2 separate regions of the Homo sapiens genome follow, and region 1 is linked to region 2. Evidence: promoter capture Hi-C in human tissues and cell types (Jung and others, 2019). All regions are on one chromosome and are shown on one strand. Each heading gives the region's core, a stretch centred on a gene start or on the middle of the fragment in contact. The rest is flanking DNA. Distances are from core to core; before and after follow the strand shown. Region 1 has its middle 250 kb from the start of CLEC14A. Region 2 holds the start of CLEC14A (C-type lectin domain containing 14A).

Region 1 (5,050 bases), core at 2,325-4,824, 250 kb after region 2:
GCAGAAACCCCTGATAAACCCATCAGCTCTCATGAGACTTATTCACTATCCCAAGAATAGCACGGGAAAGACTGGCCCCCATGATTCAATTACCTCCCCCTAAGGTCCCTCCCACAAGATGAGATTAGGGTGGGGACACAGAGTTAAACCATATCAGATTTGTAAAGGCAGTCAATATAAATTCTTTTATAATCCCTCATAATAATGATCATAAAATAGACTCTGAATAACTATTTAAAAAGTGAATGGATATGTGTTTATAAAATAATGCTATTTTAACTTTTAAATGTAGATGATGCTTTCCAAGTAGAAAAAAATAAAACTAAAAAAGCTGATAAAGCAATTCATTTTATCCTAAAGTTGTTTAACTATCAACAAACATCGTTCTAACTGTACATGCTCAAAGTATTAAATGTGGTGTAGAGTATTATATATATGACCAAACTGGGTAATAGGCCAAGAATCATTATTTAGAATTAGTAGCTCACTCATTGGGAAGATGTCCTTGTCTCAAGGCTATCAGGAAACCAATTTACATTCTTATCTCCCAAACCAAAAGATCTTGAATTGTTGTCTAAGACAAGTATAAACAAGATCTAGGTCTATGGACCTAGAAATGTTATACTGCAAGTTTCCTTCCTAAGGACAAACACCGTGTCCTTACCACCAAAAGCTAATGAGATGACAGTAATGTGTGGATATATTATGGATTCATTGCACTGACCTTCACAAAACTGCATATTGCTTTGCTTGTAGCTTTTCACAACAAATTTTATATGTCTAGTTCACCCTAGTAAGGCTAGCAAGTATCTTCGTTTAGAGAACTGAAATTTGTTTCACATTTAAATCAAGAGACAAGTAACATAAGGAAATATTTCACAGAAACATAAAATTTCTTAAGAGTTTGGGGCGCAACTTTTTCCCTTATTTTATGCTTCTAAACATTAATTATTACAGGGCATTCATATTGAAATACACAACAGGACAAGATGAACTATGTTTAGGCTTCTTAGAAATACATTTGCTTTCATTAAAGAACCACATTCTTCTTCTATCTTAACCTTAAGTCATCTTGTCACATTGTTAAATTAAGACATTTCCTAAATATTTTAGTGTCAAATAAAACCATCGCCCTCATTAGCTTGAGGAAATGGAAAAGATCAAATTGATGAGAAGTGTCAAGAGTTCTCAGTTTTCCATTTTGATTGTGGCAAATAGCCCAGCTCCATGCTAGTCATTAATAGCAAAAGCAAACTTACAATGCTTATGTTCACACACATACCAGTATTAGAGAGTGTGTGTGTGTGTGTGTCTGTGTGATGCTGTTGATGTTTTGAACTCTCCCTTAGGCATCTGGTATTCAAGCTTTCTCAGCATTTTTTACTTGAGAAGAAATCATTTTGGGAAAGCATTAAAAACACAGCAAATATCAGTGTAACATAAACAACATTCTTAATCCTACAGCAATGTGATTTGGCCCTGGACACCTGCTCTCCAAAAAAAATAAACTGAGATTACATTTTATTTTGAATCCACCAAAATATATTTTTATGTCATTTGCTTAGTAATGGACTAAATATGCAAATCCTTGAGGTATTCATTTCCCTACTTCAATACCAACAATAAAATAAAATCCCTTGATCCAGGCAGCAAATGTTAATAAACTTCTCATACGTGGTAATTATTGCTGACCACAAAATTCCAGTCCTAGCAGCATCCCAGTAAACAAAAAGTGTTACTAGGCCTATGGAAGAGGATAAATTCTACTGAATAATCATGCAAGAAGGAGATAAGATTGAATACGGAGGAAAAGGGAGTTCTAACAATACATGGGACTTACATTTTAAGGAAAGGTTAGACAAAAGCATGAGGGCATAACTAATAAATCATTTTGAATTTTATGACTCAAAGTTTGGCTTACAAACTGTATGCTGGAATTGCATTTCCCCACTTCTTTGATGAGGACAAATCTCTTTTTAACTGCAGTGAACATTCAGCAGCTCAACGTATGGCATGATCATTAAATCAATGAGCCAGCTTTTAGAAGCAGCCTTATGATAATGAGCCACTCACAGTTATCTCCCTTTGTAGTACTCAGCCATCATTTTCTTTTACTTTGCTCTTCTGACCTCAGCATCAGTACTTTATTTTACTACTACAAAGAAGATATTTTGAGAGCCAATTTAACCTTTAGCTGCACATTCTCCAACTATGATTTTACCCCAGAATGTCAAAGAATGTTCTTAAAGAAGAAAGCTGAAAGAATAAAACTTCTTGTTCTGTGTTCAACATTTTTCACTGACACTAGATCCTTCATTTGCATAAGTTCTTAGATAACCAAAACAATCAACAAATATTTATTATGCGTCAGCTTTACACAAGGCACTGAGGTAGCTACAGAGGGTACACAGATGAACAAATCACATTCTAACCATCTAAAAGCTTAACAGTTGTCCCTCAGTATCCACAGGAGACTGTTTCCAGGACCCCCACAAATTCCGAAATCCACAGATGCTCAAGGCCTCTATGAAAATGATGTAGTAATTGCATATAATCTATGCACATCCCCCCATATATTTTAAATCATCTCTGGATTGCTTATAACAGCTAATACAATATAAATACTGTGTAAATTGTTGTTCTACTGCATTTTTATTTGTATTCCTACTGTTGTATTGTTATTTATTTATTAAAATATTTTTGATCCTTGGTTGGTTGGATCTGCAGATGCATAGGACCCAAATGTACTATAATTCGAGAATGGCAAATATGTAGCAGACATGCCATTATTCACATCTCCTGGGCCAGTGCAGATATTTCTAATAAATGTGAGTATAATATCCTGCTGATCTCCAGGGTTACCTCGGAGTCCTTCTCAATGCTTGCAATCAGCATCCAAGATGAAATTTATCTACTACGGATGATCCAAATGAAGACATTGGATAGCTATTAAAGAAAACAACTGACATATAGTATAAGGTGTACTTTTAATGAATGACAGAAATTAAGTGCCATAGAATGGCAAAGGAAGAATCACCCACTAAGGATGGAAAAAGGAATTTTTCCAAAGGATTTAGGACCTCTGTCATGTGGCTTCAAAAGACAAATTGAATTTAGCTAGAGAAAATGAAGGAAAATAGTTCAGATAAGAAGAATGGCAACAAAGACAGAGGCAATAATGAGCAAAACAAGCTTAGGGAATAGTTGAGGGCGGGTTAGCTTGACTAGAGCAAAGATTTATGTGGAGAATAGCAGTAAATACAATTAGAAAGGAAGTTTGGGAGTCAATTGCAAAGGTCCCCAAATGCCATGCTTGGGTGCTTGAGCTTTTATCTACTTATTCAATCCTAACTTGAATTGACTAAAATCCAAAGTAGCTATAATTGGGTTGATAGCTCAAGATACCCAAAATAGAGTTTGAGGTACTTGTTCTCCACTGATCCCTCAGCAGCTCCAGTTTCAGCCCTTCTCTACTTTGTTCTGTGTCACAGAATGCTAAGCTCTTTGGAATGTAACCTAGGCTCTTTCTTGCCCTCCAACTTCTAAATGGTTTCAGTAAAGGTGCCAAGAGAAGATCAGAAGGCAGGATGAGAATGCAAGTGTTTATTAAAACCCCCACACCCTCTCTGCTAGGCTGTGATTTTGGCAGTGGCTTGGTTCCTCTATATAAGGTGGCCTCTCATCTACCACTGTATTAGTTTGTTTTCATGCTGCTATGAAGAAATACCCAAAACTAGGTAATGAATAAAGGAAAGAGGTTTAATTGACTCACATTTCCACAGGACTAGAGAAGCCTCAGGACACTTATAATCATGGTGGAAGAAGAAGCAAATACATCCTTCGTCATGTGGTGGGAGGAAGAAGTGCCCAGCAGAGGGAGGAAAACCCTTTATAAAACCATCAGATCTTGTGATAACTCACTCACTATCAGAAGAACAGCACGAGGGTAACCGTCCCCATGATTCAATTACCTCCCACCAGGTTCTCCCATGACATGGGGGGATTGTGGGAACTATAATTCAAAAGGAGATTTAGGTGAGGACACAGCCAAACTATATTATTCCACCCCTGGCCCCTCCCAAATCTCATCCTCACATTTCAAAACATAATCATGACTTTCCAACAGTCCCCGAAAGTCTTAGCTCACTCCAGCATTTACCCAAAAGTCCAAGTCCAAAGTTTCACCTGAGACAAGGCAAGATCCTTCCACCTACGAGCTTGTAAAATCAAAAGCAAGTTAGTTACTTCCTACATACAGTTGGGGTACAGGCACTGGGTAAATACACCCATTCCAAATGGGAGAAATCAGTCAAAACAAGGGGGCTATAGGCCCATGAAAGTCCAAAATCCAGTAGGGCAATTATTAAACCTTAAAGTTTCAAAATAATATCCTTTGACTTCATGTCTCACATCCAGGTCATGCTGATCTAAGAGATGGGCCCCCACAGCCTTGAGCAGCTCCATTCCTGTGGCTTTGCATGGTACAGCCCCATCCTGGCTGCTTTCACAGGCTGGTGTTGGGTGTCTAAGGCTTTTCCAAGCCCACTGTGCAAGCTGGCAGTGGATGTACCATTCTGGGGTCTGGAGGAAGGTAGCGTTCTTCTCACAGCTCAACTAGGCAGTGCCCCAGAGGAGACTCTGTGTGGGTGCTCCAACTGATATTTCCCTTCCACACTGCCCCAGTAGAGGTTCTCAATTAAGGTTCCACCCCTGCAGCAAACTTGTGCCTGGACACCCAAATGTTTCCATACATCCTCTGAAATCCAGGCAGAGGTTCCCAAACCTCAATTCTTGACTTTGGTGTACCTGCAGGCCCAATACCATGCAAAAGCTGCCAAGGCATAGAACTTGCACCCTCTGAAGCAACAGCCTGAGCTGTATGATGGCCCATTTTAGCCACAGCTGGAGCTGAAACAGCTAGGATGCAGGGCACCAGGTCCTGAGGCTGCACAGAGCATTGAGGCCCCCAGCCCAGGAAACCATTTTTCTCTCCTAGGCTCTGGACATGTGATGGGAGAGGCTGCTGTGAAGGTATCTGACATAACCTGGA
Region 2 (4,797 bases), core at 1,884-4,383:
TTGTTTCATTCTTTTAATGTTATAATACTAAATATATATATTTATATTTAGGAAATGAATTTATGGATTGAGCTGTTTTAATTTTTTAGTAATATTTTATAATTGGTCACTTACGACTTGTAAGTCTATTTTCCATTGTATACATTGTACACTCAAAAACATTAAAATAATTCTGTGAAAATAAAGTGTAAGCTTCTGTTTTCATTCCTCCCTGTTACTAAGCTTGTTTCTCTGCCTCTCTGCATGCACCAACCCCCACACTCTTAGTTTTAAAGTCTCAGCGTACTAATAAAAGTGGGATATCTTCTAGGGACTTTGATTCCACGAGGCAGTGATTTTTATTATGTCTTAATTATTTTTCATGGGAGTGCTTCATTTAGATTACTTTCTAATACCCCCCAGTTATAACAAGATGATAGATTTTTTAAAATTTGTCACTTATTTCTTATACTATTATTTCTTATGGTAAACTGTTTACCATGCCTTTGCCCATGTAAACACTTGTAAGATTATAATCACTCCAAAATGAGCAAGTATTGTTATTGCACACATTCTTATCAAGAGAAAAAGAAAATGGCTTGGTGTTCAAGTTTTTCCATGGGTTGAAAAATGCACAAGAACTTAGCAACTTTGGAGGAAAACCAGCTTACTTTTTCTTTGATGCAACCAGAAGATTGCAAATCAATACTTAGCATTAACATTTTAATTGAGAATTAACATCACCATAATTGAAGATGAGGATGAGCATCTTGATGTTCAGGAGAGGGCTATTTGCTTGGGGAGGTCATTACGCTGGAAAGCACAAACACTGGAAAGGGAAAACGCAAATTATGTGTTTTCCTTGGGCATGGACATAAAGTAAACACTTGAACTGGTGGTCAACTGTAATTTTCTTCCAGAGCCAGCAATTCTGGCAACACTACACTTTCGATTTATAGCAAAGCACACAAGTAGCAGTGACTTTGAAAAGAAAGGATAAAAGAATCAATGAAAAAGTTACTAGTTCTTAAAGATCTGTGTCTCATTCGAGGAACTTAAGGACCTCTCCCTCAATCTAAAAGCAGAATGCACTCTTGCTGCTTACTCCCAGCATGCCCTCAGCTGTTCCTAATTACTCCTGGAGGAAGGCAATGATATTTGAGTCTGGGTTATCAACAATCCTTTAATTTTTTATTTTTATTTTTTTCCCTGGGATTTCGAACCAATATACTCCTAGCCTGAACAACATAGAACATTTCCTTTCCATTTTGGTAGAAATTATTTTTTAATGTAAATTATATTGTGTTCTATTTGTTTCCAATGTCTTGAAAAGTTCAATCACTTCTCCAAATTCTCCGAATAAACATAAGAAAATATCTCTCCCCAGCACTACCCGGTCCCCCAGTATCACCATCCTAAAGGCACTTCCACTTCCTCTATCATCAGGGAAGGAGTGTGCAGTTCTGATTTAGCTCCTCAGTGGAGTAAAGGGAATTTAGAGGAAGGGGGATTTCTGCAGAAATTGTCAGTTACACAAGTAAGTTCCTCTTGGTTCCCCGTTTCATCAAAAGTGAAAAACTGTTCACAGGAGTGCCCATGTCCCCTGTTTCCCTATGCATCACTAGAGCCAAGAGGGGACTCCGCCAGCAAGGCACCCTCTGCTCTGTCCCGCAGATCACAGTCCCCGACTTTCACCCCATTGTTTGTGCAATGTGCAGAACTGGAGCCCAAAGCAGCGGGCTCAGGATCACTCTCCAGGCCCGGCGGGCCCATAGACTCCTTCCTTGGCTGGGAAGAGGGGCTTTCGTGAAAGCAGAGCTTGACAAGCCCCAGTACTGTCATGGTCAAGATCACCAACACTACTACTGCTGTGCTCACAAATATGAAGACCACGGCAGAGGAGGAGTCGAAAGCCTGAGGAGTGGCAGAGGAAGTCGTAGAATTAAACTTGGAAATCACGCTCCCTGATGGGGTGATAGTGGCCTTTGACTCGGCTTGAAGGGACATTTGAAGGGTAGACATCGTGCTCTGTGATCCCCATCGAGGAATCTCAGGAATAGATGTTACTGAATTGTCTTGTTCAGGGACAAGTGGTGTCTCTCCCAGCTTCTCGTCGACCCTGATTGGCCATGTTCTCTGCGGCACGGGGCTGGTTGCAGTGGCCGGCGGGCGCCTGGTGGGCACCCCGGTCCCCCCAAGGGTCGGCTGTCCTTCCCCACTGGTCACACAAGAGCGGCCGTCCTTCCCCAGCTCGAAGCCCGTAGCACATTCGCAGGCAAAGCCTCCCAAGTCGTCTAGGCAGTTAGGGAGCTCTGCGCATTTGCCAGCACGGAGGTACCTCCCGGGGCAGGGACACAACACATCGCCCGAGAGTTTGTCCCAGCGAGCGCCGATTTCGTCCGCGATGCAAGTAACTGAGATCGGGAGCTGTCCCCGGCAGAGCGCACTCACCTCGGTCCCAGGTGGACTGAAGTCCAGAGCGGCGCTGTGCAGCTGGAAGGGCGCGCGATAGCTCAAGTTAGAGGCGGCCCCGGGGCGCGGCGCAGGACACAAGACCTCAAACTGGTACTTGCACAGGTAGCCGTTGGCGCGCAGGTGGCATCGCATCTCCTTCCAGCCTGCGGGCTCGACCCCACCGGTGGCCTGGAGTACCGCGCATCTCCGCGCGGTGCAGGAGCGTTGGGGCTCCTCCACCCACTGCAGCGTGTCGCTTTCGAGACCGCCGGGGTCGGAGGACAGCCAGGAGAAACCCCGCAAAGGCTCGTTCTCCAGGGTGCAGTGGGAACGCCTGCGCTCCAGTGCGACCCAGAACAGCAGGTCTTTGGAGCCCCCTCCGGGCCCTGGGCCTGCCCGCAGGAGCGCGAGCACAGCGCGCAGCTCGGCGCCCGCACGCACGGTGCTGAGCGCCCCACCTCGCAGGATGCAGGCCTCCTCGGCCGCCTGCCGCTTCATGGTAGCGTGGTGCAGGCTGTAGCAGGCCCCCGAGGCCGAGCAGCCAGCACGGTCGGCAGTGGGGTGTTCGCCGCCGCCCGGCCCGGGCCAGAGCGCCTGCCAGAGGAGGCACAGGGCGAACGCCGGCCTCATTCTCTGAGGCCCCGCACGCAGAGCTGCTCCCAACTTGGATCTGTCCCGCTCGAGGACGCAGAGCTGTGTCTGGAGCGCGGTCACCGCCCTCTACAGCTGGCTTCCCCAACCCGGTTCCCCCTCCCTTCCCCTCCGCCCTCGCTCCCGACGGACCCCCCAACTGCCAAGAATCCCCCCGCGGGCCCAGCGGCCAACAGTTTCCCTTAGGCCGCGACAGGAAATGTGTGCGGAGCGCTGCCAGGCCCGGTGCAGCCCTGAGTTATTCTGGGGTCAGGAACACAGCTGGCGCCGGGTACAGGGGACGCAGTCGACTAGAAGGTCAAACACCCTGCTTAGAGCAAGAGGAGAAATTCGCCACTGGGATGAAGTGTGTGGTTTTTCTCCGTTCAGGGAGTTTCATCAGGACCGCAGAACCCATAACACGTAAGCGAACATAGGCAGGAAGGACTTGAGAAAGGAACTGGCTTATGATTATAAGACCACGCCCGTCTATTGTGTTTCTGTCCGGAGCTGTGGAGTTAGCGTCAGAATAATTCGTAGACGGCTCCAGTGTTTGGGGGGCCTGTGCCTGTGGGGGAAAAATATGTTGTGAAACAACTTAGCAACTGCTTTTGCCACCAGAGGCAGCACTATTTAACCGCATATCTCTCTATGGGTCTTTGCTTCTCTATTATGTCAAGAGATTTCAGGAGTCCTAACTACTAAAGAATTTGGAGTTGTTTGGGTATTTTAAATGGGAAATTCTGCTTCTTCCATCAGCACTTGCTTTAGAAATTTATTTTTCACTTCCACGTGTTTCTCTTTGAGTTAGACCATATTGATTCATTACAGAAAGGAAATGTATTTCTAGGACTAAATGAAAAATAATGACCATAGATCTTAACAGTTAGGTTGTTAGCTTTCCTTGCCACTGTATTGGTTCAAAAATTCTTCAAGTTTATAGGTTATACATAAATGAGTTCGTGGCCTTATAAATATTCGAGAACAACTGCCCTATGTGTGATTTTAGCCTTGAACTATTTTAGTATCATTTTCTCCTATGATTGAGTGGCAGCATTTATAATAGTAAGTTGTAAACATCTCCTTTAAGGAAAATTAGAGTTCCTTAAGAAATTAAAATGTTTATTCCATTATAATGAATATTGTATACTGTCAAAAAATATCTTGTAATTTGAAAGATGGGTGAGCCAATTTCTTTAGAATTCCAGTGGGTGTTTTGTTTTAATATAAACATTTCAACTCAGTGGGAAGTGGCAAGGAATTAAAGATGAATAAAGAAGTAAAGGTTAAAAACTGTACTGTTATGAAAGGATTTCTTGTTAGCAACTTAGACAATTCAGTATCAGTTTAGAAAACGTACATTCTATCTTGGTTCATAATGGCCAAATACGTTGCCATCAGAAATACATAGAGAGTTTCAGCTAAGCCCTCTTAGAGATGTCTGATGCTTTTAAATATCTTTAATCAGAATGAAAGTTGCCATTCCATGGATAATGCATATAAGCTCACTTTGTTTTACTGCATTCAGGTTGATGAGGGGTGGGAGGGAAGGTTTCAGGATCACATCTGTATGCTTCCATCTTATTTTTACCATAACTCTCATTCTTCTTTCCTCCTGGAAATTCCATGTATCTTAACAAACAACAGTAAGCCTATGAGTCATCATCATACTTACCTTGCTTTTGCTGAGTATGGAGCTTTGCACTAGGATTTCTCTCCTGCCCTATTTCCCAA

What was found. Contacts are between HindIII fragments. The study calls those that stand out against the background at their distance.
Region 1: a fragment that was not itself captured here is called in contact with the fragment with the promoter of CLEC14A in region 2 in 2 of the 25 tissues and cell types used here (IMR-90 fibroblasts and mesenchymal stem cells).

The regions. Positions count from the first base shown.
Region 1 is chr14:38,504,042-38,509,091 of GRCh38, forward strand. No RefSeq gene overlaps it. Among named protein-coding and RNA genes, the nearest start is that of CLEC14A, 250 kb to the left of the region's middle. The HindIII fragment of the contact is 7,274 bases long and covers 1-5,050 here.
Region 2 is chr14:38,252,960-38,257,756 of GRCh38, forward strand. CLEC14A (C-type lectin domain containing 14A) reads right to left here and starts at 3,134. Exons shown (of 1, transcript NM_175060.3): 1 at 1,041-3,134. The coding sequence starts at 3,063. The coding sequence ends at 1,591. It overlaps LOC112268136 (a long non-coding RNA gene), which reads left to right and starts at 3,086. Exons shown (of 5, transcript NR_169588.1): 1 at 3,086-3,486. RefSeq lists an enhancer at 2,316-2,943. The HindIII fragment of the contact is 7,223 bases long and covers 1-4,797 here.